Regions from separate parts of the Homo sapiens genome. Here regions 1 and 2 are each linked to region 3. Evidence: promoter capture Hi-C in human tissues and cell types (Jung and others, 2019). All regions are on one chromosome and are shown on one strand. Each heading gives the region's core, a stretch centred on a gene start or on the middle of the fragment in contact. The rest is flanking DNA. Distances are from core to core; before and after follow the strand shown. Region 1 holds the start of ZNF132 (zinc finger protein 132). Region 2 holds the start of LOC124904780 (a long non-coding RNA gene). Region 3 holds the start of ZNF586 (zinc finger protein 586).

Evidence for each region. The method cuts DNA at HindIII sites, captures the fragments that hold promoters and counts their contacts. A contact is called where the count stands out against the background at its distance.
Region 1: the fragment with the promoter of ZNF132 here is called in contact with the fragment with the promoter of ZNF586 in region 3 in 1 of the 25 tissues and cell types used here (heart right ventricle).
Region 2: a contact is called between a fragment that was not itself captured here and the fragment with the promoter of ZNF586 in region 3, in 1 of the 25 tissues and cell types used here (hippocampus).

The regions. Positions count from the first base shown.
Region 1 is chr19:58,437,002-58,441,406 of GRCh38, reverse strand. ZNF132 (zinc finger protein 132) reads left to right here and starts at 1,254. Exons shown (of 3, transcript NM_003433.4): 1 at 1,254-1,648; 2 at 4,192-4,360. The coding sequence starts at 1,586. ZNF132-DT (ZNF132 divergent transcript) reads right to left here and starts at 959. Exons shown (of 1, transcript NR_186311.1): 1 at 1-959. It also overlaps a transcript of ZNF324B not described here. RefSeq lists enhancers at 57-566, 716-845, 1,078-1,588. The HindIII fragment of the contact is 13,144 bases long and covers 1-4,405 here.
Region 2 is chr19:57,169,643-57,173,650 of GRCh38, reverse strand. LOC124904780 (a long non-coding RNA gene) reads right to left here and starts at 1,407. Exons shown (of 2, transcript XR_007067355.1): 1 at 1,355-1,407. RefSeq lists an enhancer at 1,380-1,439 and a silencer at 1,771-1,820. The HindIII fragment of the contact is 4,103 bases long and covers 1-3,843 here.
Region 3 is chr19:57,766,733-57,771,307 of GRCh38, reverse strand. ZNF586 (zinc finger protein 586) reads right to left here and starts at 1,632. Exons shown (of 3, transcript NM_017652.4): 1 at 1,430-1,632. The coding sequence starts at 1,465. RefSeq lists enhancers at 1,398-1,647, 1,369-1,908. The HindIII fragment of the contact is 4,771 bases long and covers 1-2,951 here.

The DNA.
Region 1 (4,405 bases), core at 5-2,504, 670 kb before region 3:
GATCACTTCTCCCATCCTTCTTGCTTCCGTTCTGGACAGGCCACTATCATAACTGTCTGGAACAATACTGCAATAACCTCCCCCACAGTCTCCCTGCTTCCAGCCCCACTACAACCACCTTCTCCAGTAGTGTGTTCATTCAGCAACCACTGAAATACTTTCCAAATTCTAACTCAGGTCATGTCCATCCCTTTTCTGTTCAACACCTTTCATGGCTCCCAGGCGCCCTCGGTGTGCCAGGAGAGGCAGGACTCCTCTTACGCTCTCCACTCGCTGCCAAGGGGGCATGAGAGCCTGCCTGAACGCTCAGGTCAGGGTCAAGTCCAAGTCTTCGCATATGCAGATCCCTCCTCCTGTACCCTCCACGTCTCAACAAACTGGATTCTGAAATGGTGACCCCCAACCTGTGAACGCTCCACACTGTTCAGTGGGGCCCGCAGAGGACCTGGGGCAGATACTTCTCAATCGGAGACTTAGGACAATGGTGCTGAGTCCAGCGGAGTGGGTGCCAGGAGACCTTTGGCGCACGTTCCATGCCTACAGCCGGGCGCACACTGGGTCAAGACCTCCCAATGCGTAGCTTTTCTTGGCCTCGGCCTCGCGCTCCCTAAAGCCAACATAACGCCAAGGGCGACGACTCCCGAGAGCCGCGGACACCTCCGCGCGGTGCAACCTGAGGGTCCCACTGGGCCGGCTTTATCTAAGGCACAGGGTGGGGAAGGGGGGTGCGGTGTTGTGGGGGGCGAACACTGGGCTCAGGGGCGATATTCGCCGCGGTGGGGGCGCTTGTATGTCAAGAAGGCGGAACTTCCCCGACTCTCGTGCCTTCCTCGCTCCTGTTTCCATGGGCCCAGGGAGCCTCCAAGATTCCGTCCCTCGCCTGACAACGCGGTCCCTTCAGAAGCAGACAAAATCGAGAAATGCCAAAGTGATGGTCCGAGGACGACGACGGAAGTCCCGCTGCCAGGCTGTGATTGGCCAGCGTCTTACACTCCGCCCGGAAGTGCCTGTCTCCTCGGCTGCCAATGGCCAGCCCTGAGGCACCGCGAGGGTCCTTCTGGATAATGTAGTTTGCGTTGCCTGAGCAGCGACGCAATAAACGCCATTCCTCAATCACCTTGGCAACGACCTAGCAGTAGCGTGACGGGCATAGGGAAATAGCGTCATAGACGGCGGGGATCCTTGAGCCAATGAAAGCTCGGACCAGTGGCAAGTCCGAGCTGTCATTGAGAGGCGGGACTTCCGGCGCCGCCATTGCGGTCCTCATTTTGCTGCTGGTGGGTTGGGCTACAGCAGGCCTCTGGAGCCACACCAGGGCACGGGAGTGGGTGCAGGGACCGTCACCGCGCCTTCACACGCACCATAGTGCCCGGCTAATTACTCTGCTTTTATGAGCCAAGGTGTTCCCGAAAGTGGAGCCAGCGCCACGCGTCTCCAGGGTCTCCATACCCAGCCTTCGTCCCTGCGGTGCCCAGAGGCCTTGCGCGCATTTTGCATTTGGGAAGACAGGTCCTGAGTGCGACCGTCACCCAGCGGAAGTGTGAGGGTTCGGCCCAGCGGCAGGGCTAGCCCTGGGCCTCCTGTTATGGCCCTGCCCAGCCCACAGGTTCTAATGGGGTTGCCAGCGTTGCTGATGGGCCCGGCGCAGGTAAGTGGAGTGTGCCCCAGGCCCTCACCCGCTGGGATTCCGGCCCTCAGGATCCTGAAGCCCAGATAGAGGGGATGTTGGTGTCCTGGGACTCTTGATCGTGTCCTGTCCTCACACGTGGGTCCTGGGCCCTGCCCTGGGAGTCACTTACCCTTACCATCCTGAATCCAGGCAAGGGGTTATATCGAGGGATTCCCATTTCTGGAATCCTGTGGAATGAGATCTGGAAGGCTGTCCCAGGGACAGTGACCAGCATGTGTACCTTGTTTAGTGGTGATGAAATGGAAGCATTCTGGGGACTGCCGGTCTCCATTTAGTCTGGTGGAAACAGGGAAGGGAAACCAATAGTTAGGCCTGGAATGGCAGCCTGAGGAGCTGGACCTCTATTCTGATGGTGGTGGGAGCCATGGAAGGTTTGGAGTAGAGGAAGTAGGTGCTCTGACTCCAGTCTTAACAGACGCCCTATGGATGCCTAGTGGGCAGCAGACTGGAGGGATGGTGATGGTGGAGCAGGAAGGCCAGTGAGGAGCTGACAGATGTGGTCCAGATGTGTGCTTTGGGTAGCTGGACAGAGGGGTGCCCGTGGAGGTAGGACAGATGGTTGGCTTCTGAATCTGCCCAAACTGGGCCATGGATTACCTGATGTGGGACAGTGAAAGAAAGTGAAATGTTAAGATTGACCTAAGGCTGAGTGCAGTGGCTCACACTTGTAATCCCAGCACTTTGGGAGGCCAAGGCGGCCAGATCACTTGAGGTCAGGAGTTCAAGACCAGCCTGGCCAACGTGGCGAAACCCCACCTCTACTAAAAATACAGAAAAATTAGCCAGGACATGGTAGTGTGCACCTGTAATCCCAGCAACTTGGGAAACTGAGGCAGAAGAACTGTTTGAATCTGGGAGATGGAGGTTGCATTGAGCTGAGATCGTGCCACTGCGCTCCAGCCTGAGTGACAGAGCGAGACTCTGTCTTAAAAAAAAAAAAAAATTGCCGGGCGTGGTGGCTCACGCCTGTAATCCCAGCACTTTGGGAGGCCGAGGCAGGTGGATCACTAGGTCAGGAGATTGAGACCATCCTGGCTAACACGGTGAAACCCCATCTCTACTAAAAATACAAAAAATTAGTCAGGCGTGGTGGTGGGTGCCTGTAGTCCCAGCTACTCGGGAGGCTGAGGCAGGAGAATGGCTTGAACCCGGGAGGCGGAGCTTGCAGTGAGCCAAGATCGCGCCACTGCACTCCAACCTGGGTGACAGAGCGAGACTCTGTCTCAAAAAAAAAAAAAAAAAAATTGACCTTAGATCTTTCAGATGTGGAAGTTGGTGTGAGGAGTAGATTTCAGGGGGAAGATAAAGAGTTGGATTTTGGCCATGTTGTATTTGAGATGTCCCAGACACTACCAAATTGAGGTGCCAAGTAGACCACTAAACATGTGATTATGAAATTATGTCGGGTTTAGGCTGGAAACATCCAAGGGATGGATGCTTGTGTGTGGACACTGCATGCAGTTGTGGGTTGGGTTCAAGATAGTGGCTGAGCCTCCTGAGCAGAGAGTAGGTCTAGGACAACAGTGAAGCATAGCGGCAAAAGTAGGATGAGAGTTGGGCTTTGGTTTAGGTTGATTTGCTTCTCTACAGCTCACTACATTGTTGCGGCCATCCTTCTTGTGGTCAGGGCATGTTATCTCTTCTTAAATAGGGTCCTGGGGTTTTTGTCAGGCTGGTGGAGTGGCAAGATCAGAAAGGGTCAGCCTAAGCTGAGTCCCCAAGCCAAGGTGGGGGCCAGTGGATCTTGGATTTGAGTGTTAGGAAGAGCAAGGACAGCTATGACTGGGGAGGAGACAACACATACAAAGGCAAAGATATCAGAGGGAAGAGATATTTGAGATCTGCTTATGGTTCTGGGCAGCTGATGGTTGAAGGAACAGGGCTGGCAGGGGAGGCATTGACTTGAGGGGCTATGACTGCCTCTTGCAGTGGGGTTTTTGGAGCTCTGTAGCTGGCTTGGACCAGGAATGGATCCCGGTTGCATCTGTCAGGTATGCCATGTGCATGGTGAGATGCTAGGGAGAATGCCTACAGTGTGAACAGGGAGGGGTTGGAAATATAAGAACTGTATGGTCTGAGGAGTGACATGTAAAGGTGAGAGAATGTGAACCATTGGGCCCATGGCCCTGGTACAAGAGGCTTAAGAAAGGGAAGCCCAAATTTTCTTATGTTTGGGAGGTATGAGCCAGAAGACACAAGGAAAATTGGCCAGCAGGAGGGAGGAGGAAGCATCCATCTGCCCACCTGCCTATTGTTCCTCTAGGTTGGGTTGGCCTGGATACAGTGACCAGTGGGACTACTAGGAGAGAGGGGCACCATTAATTCCAGGGCATGTTAGGTGGGGGCCCTGAGGAAGAAGATAAGCTGTGGATGGGTGAGTAGTGGGTGGACTGAGAGGATCATAAGAAAAAGAGATATTAGTGGTAGATGTATCAGGATTCTGAGTCACACAGCAAGGTCCTGCATATTTCCATTTGACCAATTGTTTGTTTCTTTGTCAGCATACTTCTTGGCCCTGTGGCTCAGCTGTCCCCACATTGAAGAGCATGGTAACCTTTGAAGATGTGGCTGTATACTTCTCCCAAGAGGAGTGGGAGCTCCTTGATGCAGCCCAGAGGCACCTGTACCACAGTGTGATGCTGGAAAACCTTGAGCTTGTGACCTCACTTGGTAATGCCCTGTCTCAGCATGGTGATGACTACCTTATGCCTTGTG
Region 2 (4,008 bases), core at 543-3,042, 600 kb after region 3:
ATAAAATGTAAAGAAGTAATAGAAATAGAATCCCCACAAGCAGTGATCACAGATTCAGGGAAGAATCATCAACAGAGGCTAAAACTAGAGGCTGAAGTGGGGGGACTTAATATTATTCAGACATTGCAAAGAATTGACCCACAGATTACTTATTAATTACAAAGAAGAAAGAGTGGAGAGATCTAGTAGATACCATCTTAACCAAGTAGTCAAAATCCAAATCTCCCAAATGGACAAACTGTATACTTAGGTGCCTCCTTATAGGACATAACATCATTGGCAATTCTGGGGCAAAATAAATGTGTTCATTGAATTATTGTTGGAACTTTGGAAAAGGTATACATTTTTCAAAATAAATAACTTGTCCTTCAAATCTCCAATATACTGAATACCTGATATTGGGCAAATTACACGTCTTCCTGGGCCTCAGTTTCCTCACATTAAAAATATGGAGATAATGTTATTACTTGCCTGCTCAATTGTAAGGTTTACAAAAAGAAAATACGTAGTTAATAACTCAGGGCTTGGTAAATGTTTGCTATTTGGAATAAACTGATGGGAGGCTACATGCAATTTCTACTTACCCCTTTAGCATGAAGATACTAAAAAAAAATTGTTTTAATGTTAATACTGGTCAGCTGTGCCTGAATTCCTTTTTTTTTTTTTTTTTTTTTTGAGGCGTAGTCTTGCTCTGGTGCTGAGGCTGGAGTGGCAGTGGCGCGATCTCGGCTCACTGCAACCTCCACCTCCCGGGTTAAAGCAATTCTCCTGCCTCAGCCTCCTGAGTAGTTGGGATACAGGCGCCCGCCACCACGCCTGGCTAATTTTTGTATTTTTAGTAGAGACGGGGTTTCTCCATGTTGGCCAGGCTGGTCTCGAACTCCTGACCTCATGTGATCCACCCACCTCGGCCTCCGAAAGTGCTGGGATTACAGGCATGAGCCACCGCGCCCGACCTGTGCCTGAATTTCAAAGAGAGGAGGGTAAAATGAGGCATGTCCCATCTCCTTCCTATCGCGGCCGAACTAGTGTTTCCGGTTAAGTTTGCCATGCTCTTAGCTGAGAGGAGGGGTCCATTCAGTTGGCTGGGAGCTTAGAATTTGATTTTTAGTTTACAGCTCTGTGATTCACCCGGGAGAGATGCAGAGTTAGGACAACAGGAGAGAAGCGAACCCGGAGAGCAACGCCTCCCAGCACTGCCTGACATCAACCGCTCTGGCAGGGCGACCACGCGGCCGGGGCCCTCCGGAAAGCAGCCTTAATCCCCGCCCGACCGCAGGTCTCGGGCCACGCAGCGCTAACAGCCGCGGGAGGGGGACCCAAACGTCAGCGGTCCCCAAATACAGGACCCTACCTTGCTCTGGCATCTCACCGGCCCTCCCTGCTGCCACTGAGCGCCGCGGAGAGGACGAGCCCGGCGCGCCCCGCCCCCTCGCGCGCCCCGCCCCCTCGCGCGCCCCGCCCCCTCGCGCGCCCCGCCCCCTCGCGCGCCCCGCCCCCTCGCGCGCCCCGCCCCCTCGCGCGCCCCGCCCCCTCGCGCGCCCCGCCCCCTCGCGCGCCCCGCCCCCTCGCGCGCCCCCGCCCCCTCGCACGCCCCCGCCCCCTCGCACGCCCCGCCCCCTCGCGGCCCCCGCCCCCCTCGCGGCCCGCGGCCCCCGCCCCCCGGACCCCCGCTCGCGCTCCCCGGACCCCAGCTCGCGGCCCCGGACCCCCGCTCGCGCCCCCCGGCCCGGGGACGCATTTCCCTTGCCTGCACCCAAGCCGGTAAAAGGGCAGACGTGGCAGCTCAAGGCGCCTGCGCCCAGCAGGTTGCAGGCCCCACTCTCTCAGGGAGACCAACATACTTGCGGAGCCGCACAGAGAGGTGAAGCTTAAAAGAGGTACCGGTGATGATATCCGGGCTTTTGAGGGCACGGAATTGAAAACTGGAGTGAAACATACAAATAAAAGGAAATAAAAGCTCATCAAGTTTTCTTTGTGTTGCTGATGGTGTAGCACAGGTCAGATACTCGCCCTGCAGAAAAGTCAGGTCAGGAATTTAGGATGCAGGATGACTTCTGATTCTTCCCCAGAGGCACTACCTGTGTGCACTGTTGGCCTCCCTTCTCCACGACTTCACCTGCATTTTTATGTACAATTTTAAAGGTTCTCGATATGGAATTGGAAATGGAATCCTGTGTCTTTTGGTAAACATTTACTAAAAGGCATCACATCTTGTTCTCCGTTTTCAGGAAGTTCACTCCTCCTTGTCAGTACTTTGACTAGACAATTAAAATAAACATAGATCCAATTTAGAAGAATGCTATAAAGATACAAAAAACATAAAAACAAAATATTATTTTAAAATACTGAATTAAGAAAACACTTGCAGGACATAGGACAAATGCAGCATAATATTTAAGTCTCAAAGAAATGTTCTACCTAAGAAAGAAGCAAAGAATCTGAAAGCTAATAAAAGAAAAATAAAATATGGCAAATACATTTGATTAAAAGTGTTCAAGCACGCTAGCGCTCAAATTAAAAATAAAACAATGAGATATTATTTCCAGCTCTAAGATTTATAATGATTGAAAATTTGATGGCTGGGCATGGTAGCTCATGCATTTACTGTCAGAGCACTTTTGGAGCCCTAGGGGGTAAGATCGCTTGAGCCCAGGAGTCGGAGGCTGCAGTGAGCCATGGTTGCACCACTGCATTCCAGCCTGGGCGACAGAGCAAGACCCTCTCAAAACAAATAAATAAATAAATACAATTTAAAAAAGAAAGAAAAATATTTTAAATAACTAAACTGAAACAGGTCAGGGTCACTGGTCTCATTGTCTAAGGTGTTATCTAAGCTCGTGGTCTCATGACCAAGAAAATTAAGGAGCGTGGACACAAACAGTGAGGTTGGATCAAAAATAGAAGCAGAGAGTAAAATGGTGGTTGCCGGGGGCTTGAGTGAAGGGGAAATGGGGAAATGTTGGTCAAGAAGTACAAATTTTCAGTTTTGCAAGATAAGTTTTGGGGATTTAAGGTACATAGTGACGTTATTTGACATGTACATTGTGACATTATGTGACATAGTTAACAAATTAGAAAAAAAAATTTTAAATTGGATGATCAGAAATGAAAAAAACAATACTACTTGACATTTGCTAAGAGGATAGATTTTTATTTTTTGCGACAAGGATAGACCTTAAGTGTTCTTCTGCATGGGGGAGAAAAGGATATTTTTTTTAAAAAGTGTTCTGACCGCACACACACACACACACAAAGGGTATAATTTGAGGTGGTTAATACATCAATCAGCTTGATTTGATTATGGTAACCATATCATATTATATGTGTATATCAAAATTCAAATCGTATATTTAAAATATGTATCTTTTTTGTCAACTGTACCTCAATAAAGCTAAAAAGTAAATACAAGGCCCAGGGCAGTGGATCACACCTGTAATCCTAGCACTTTGGGAGGCCGAGGCAGGTGGATCACCTGAGGTCAGTAGTTCGAGACCAGCCTGGCCAATATGGTGAAACCCCATCTCTACTAAAAATACAAAAAATTAGCCAGACGTGGTGGCAGATGCCTGTAATCCCAGCTACTCAGGAGCCTGAGGCAGGAGAATCACTTGAATCTGGGAGGCAGAGGCTGCAGTGACCTGAGATCACCCCACTGCACTTCAGCCTGGGCAACAAGAGTGAAACACTGTCTCAAAAAAAAAAAAAAGTAAATACAATATTTAATTGGAGTAAATATAATATAATGTAACATATATGCACACACACAAAGGGTGTGGTTTGAGGTGGTAAATACATCAATCAGCTTGATTTGATTATGGTAATTATATCTTTTGTGTATTTCAAAATTCAAACTATATTTAAAATATATATCATTTATATCATTTTTGTCAACTGTACCTCAATAAAGCTAAAAAGTAAATACAATATTTAATTGGAGTAAATATAATATAATGTAATATATATGTACACACACACAAAGGGAGTGGTTTGAGGTGGTAAATACAT
Region 3 (4,575 bases), core at 383-2,882:
TTTTTTTCAGACGGAGTCTTTCTCTGTCGCCCAGGCTGGAGTGCAGTGGCGCGATCTCGGCTCACTGCAACCTCTGCCTCCCGGGTTCAAGCGATTCTCCTGCCTCAGCCTCCCAAGTAGTTGGGACTACAGGTGTGTGCCACCAGGCCTGGCTAATTTTTTGTATTTTTAGTAGAGGGGGGATTTCACCGTGTTAGCCAGGATGGTCTCAAACTCCTGACCTCGTGATCCGCCCGCCTCGGCCTCCCAAAGTGCTAGGATTACAGGCGTGAGCCACCGCGCCCGGCCGTGAAACCCCACCTCTACTAAAAATACAAAAAGCCAGTTACTCGGGAGACTGAGATGAGAGGCTCTCCTGAGCCCGGAGAGGTCGAGGCCGTGCTGCGCCGTGATCGCGTCACCGCAACCCAGCCTGGGTGTTGAGTGAGAACCCGTCGCCGAAAAAAAAAAAAGATGCCAAGATCTAGACATGTGGGATAGGATGAGGACCAGTGAAGGACTAGAGCATCCCCTACTTCCTACTGTGGATTCTGTAAGTGCTTCTGTAGCCATGAGGTGTGCCAAAAGGCAGGGCTTTCACAAATGTGTCTGTGCTCGGATTTGATAGACTCAGGCTTCTCTGTAAGCTTTTTTTGGCCCTGCAGCCAGATGACTTCAGACTGAGTCTCTAATCTTGTGGCCCAGTGCTCAATGTCACCTCTCAATGATTCAACCTCTCAATGTCCTCATCACTGCCTTCAACTCTGTTCTTCCTTCGAACATCTTTTGGGAATCGCAACTCTAACACAGATTTCCTCCTTTGTTCAAAACTGTCCATGGCTTTTAGCGTCCTCACAGTCAAAGTTCAACCCTCAGCCTGGTACTGAAGAAACAACTCCGCCTCGGCCAGGCGCGGTGGCTCACGCCTGTATTCCCAGCACTTTGGGAGGCCGAGGTGGGCGGATCACCTAAGGTCAGGAGTTCGAGGCCAGCCTAGCCAACATGGTGAAACCCCGTGGTGGCGCATGCCTGTAATCCCAGCTACTCGGGAGGCTGAGGCAGGAGAATCGCTTGAACCGGGGAGGTGGAGCTTGCAGTGAGCCGAGATCGCGCCACTGCACTCCAGCCTGGGCGACAGAGTGAGACTCCGTCTCAAAAAAAAAAAAAAAAAGAAATAACTCCGTATCACACTTCTTTCCCAGTAGACACACGATGTCCCCGTGTTCCGCATCCTCCTGCCTCAGTCGCGCCTGCAGGCCTTTGCCCTCCGCCAGTCTCGCTCTGCCGACCGCATCAACTGGGTGTCGGAAACAGGGATCCCACCCGCCGGCGCCTCTCCGTCCCTGACAGAGGCCTGGGCTGCAGGGACGCGAGGAGGCGGCCCTCACGATCAGGGGCCTCAGGGTCTGGGTGGGTAGGGTGGGTAAGGCCCGGAGGTCGCAGCGCTCACCTGAGCAGGCGCCCTCAGAGCGGCTGCTGCCGCCATGACTCTGGGCGGGGGGGGAACGCGGGCTCGGCGGTGTTCCTGTCGTTGTCCTGTCCCGGGTCGCGACCAGCGGCGTCGCCGAACCTCAGATCCGCCTGTGTGCAATGGCCACAACCACTCCTCCCGAGCTCGTCCAGACCCAGCATCGCCGGATGGACCTGACAGGCCAAAATGGCTGCCACGGCTAGGACGCCGGAAGTCCTGGCTTGACTTTACGTGCCCCGGCAATGGCACGGCTTCTCTGAAGCTTCATTGGCTCAGCCACGTTACCATTTCGCAGGGCGGATTCTGGGTAATGTAGTTCCCAGACATGGGCAGCGCTTAAGGTGGCTTTCTTCCGACTTTCCGAAGAAAGGGGCAAGCTCCACTGCGAGGGGCGCTAGGAAATGGCGACTCCAGGTCCAGATGCGGAGGAGGGTCTCCCATCTTAGAAGAGGCCATACGCACATTTCTGGGGGTACTGTGTGCAACTGATTGCCCGCGTGTTTGGAGACTTCTTATTTCAGAATTTGTGATGCTCGGCTTCTTCCTTTTTTTTTTTTTTTTGTCTTTTTTTTAAGACATAGTTCTCTCTGTCACTCAGGCTGGGGTGCAGTGGTGTGATCTTGGCTCACTGCAGCCTATGCCTCCCGGGTTCAAGCGATTCTCGTGCCTCAACCATCCGAGTAGCTGGGATTACAGGCGTGTGCCACCATACCCTGCTAATTTTTGTATTTTTAGTAGAGACGGGGTTTCCTCATTTTGGCCAGGCTGGTCTCGAACTTCTGGCCTCAAGTGATCTGCCTGCAATGGTCTACCGAAGTGCTAGGATTACAGGCGTGAACCACCGTTCTCAGCCCATTAGCAACACTTTTATTTATATCTTTAACCTACAGATTCCTCTAGAAATCTGATATCAACATCAAAAAGCTAATGAGACAAATGCTATTATGTTACAGGACAATGGCTGCGGTGTTCAAACATGGAGTATGTATGCATGAGAGAAGAGAGAGACCCTCTCACATTGTTTTATATTCAGTAAAAACAACAAGGAAGTAAAACCAAAGACAGGCAACCCCGCGCCAGGCCCGAAACCAGGCCTAGGCCCGCCTGGCCTAAACCCAGTAGTTAAAAATCAACTTATGATTTAGAAGCCGATGTTATTCATAGATTCCTTAGATTGTATAGAAGAACATTGTGAAACTCCCTGCCCTGTTCTGTTCCTCCCTGACCACCGGTGCATGCAGCCCCTGTCACATACCCCTTGCTTGCTCAAATCAATCACGACCCTTTCATGTGAAATCTTTAGTGTTGTGAGCCCTTAAAAGGGACAGAAATTGTGCACTCCGGGAGCTCAGATTTTGAGACAGTAGCTGGCCAATGCTCCCAGCTGAATAAAGCCCTTCCTTCTGCAACTCGGTGTCTGAGAGGTTTTGTCTGCGGCTCGTCCTGCTACATGCACAGGGTGCTTTTACACTGAGATATTTCAAGTGCCTTAAATCCATGCGTTCACCTCTTTGCTGGCAAGTGCTTATCATTGTCAGTGGCATTGGAATCAGAGTGACTCCATCTTGAAAATGGGCTGGATAAAGTAAGGCTGAGAAATACTCGGCTGCATTCCCAGGTTAGGCATTCTTAGTCACAGGATGAGATAGGAGGTTGGCACAAGATGCAGGTCACAAAGACCCTGCTGATAAAACAGGATGCAGTAAAGAAGCTGGCTAAAACGCACCAAAACCAAGATGGTGATGAAAGTGACCTGTGGTCATCCTCACTGCTCATTATACGCTAATTATAATGCATTAGCATACTAACTCCCGCCAGCGCCATGACAGTATACCAATGCCCTGGCAATGTTTGGAAGTTACCCTATATAGTCTAAAAAGGGGAGGGAACCTCAGTTCTGGGAAATCTCCACCTCTTTTTTTTTTTTTTTTTTTGAGATGGAGTCTCGCTCTGTCACCCAGGCTGGAGTGCATTGCTGCGATCTCGGCTCACTGCAACCTCCGCCTCTTGGCCAAGTTCAAGTGATTTTCCTGTCTCAGCCCCCCGAGCAGCTGGGATTATAGGCGCCTGCCACCGCGCCCAACCTGTAAAATTTTCTATACTTAAAAAAAAAGTTGGCTGGGCGCGGTGGCTCACACCTGTAATCCCAGCACTTTGGGAGGCCGAGGCGGGCGGATCACGAGGTCAGGAGATCGAGACCATCCTGGCTAATATGATGAAACCCCGTCTCTACTAAAAATACAAAAAAATTAGCTGGGCGTGGTGGCAGGCGCCTGTAGTCCCAGCTACTCCGGAGCCTGAGGCAGGAGAATGGCTTGAACCCGGGAGGCGGAGGTTGCAGTGAGCCGAGATCACGCCACTGCACTCCAGGCTGGGGGACAGAGCGAGACTCCGTCTCAAACAAACAAACAAACAAACAAACAAAAAAGTTGGCCGGGTGCGGTGGCTCATGCCTGTAATCCCAGGACTTTGGGAGGCAGAGGTGGGCGGATCACGAGGTCAGGAATTCGAGACCAGCCTCACCAACATAGTGAAACCCCGTCTCTACTGAAAATAGAAAAATTAGCTGGGTGTGGTGGCGCATGCCTGTAATCCCAGCTACTCAGGAGGCTGAGGCAGGAGAATCACTTGAACCCAGGAGGCGGAGGCTGCAGTGAGCCAAGATCGCGCCACTGCACTCCAGCCGGGGTGACAGAGGACAGAGTGAGGCTCCGTTTCAAAAAAAAAAAAAAAAAAAAGCTTTCTTGGATTATGCTTTGTATAAATTAAATTGGATATTTAGTGTAAACTTTATTCAGTAATGGAGGTGAGGGTTTCCAGTAGTATTTCTTTCCCCAAACAATCATTTTCTCAGATTTCCCGTGAGTTGGCTCATAAACATGTTGTACCATAAGAAATTGAAATCTCAAAGGCAAGATGGGTCTCCTGTTGGGTCCACACCAAAATTTGTAAATGGGGGAAAAGCATTACCGCTTTGTTAGCCATATCTACTTTTTCTTATCTGAAGCCTCTTTTTGAATCCCTTGGAGTTCCTGTTCAATGGCACTTATTTTGAATGTAGTGACTTTTATAGTTTCATGTGATATTGGTGTCAAGAGAGTCTTTTTGCTGCTGCATCTGCGAAA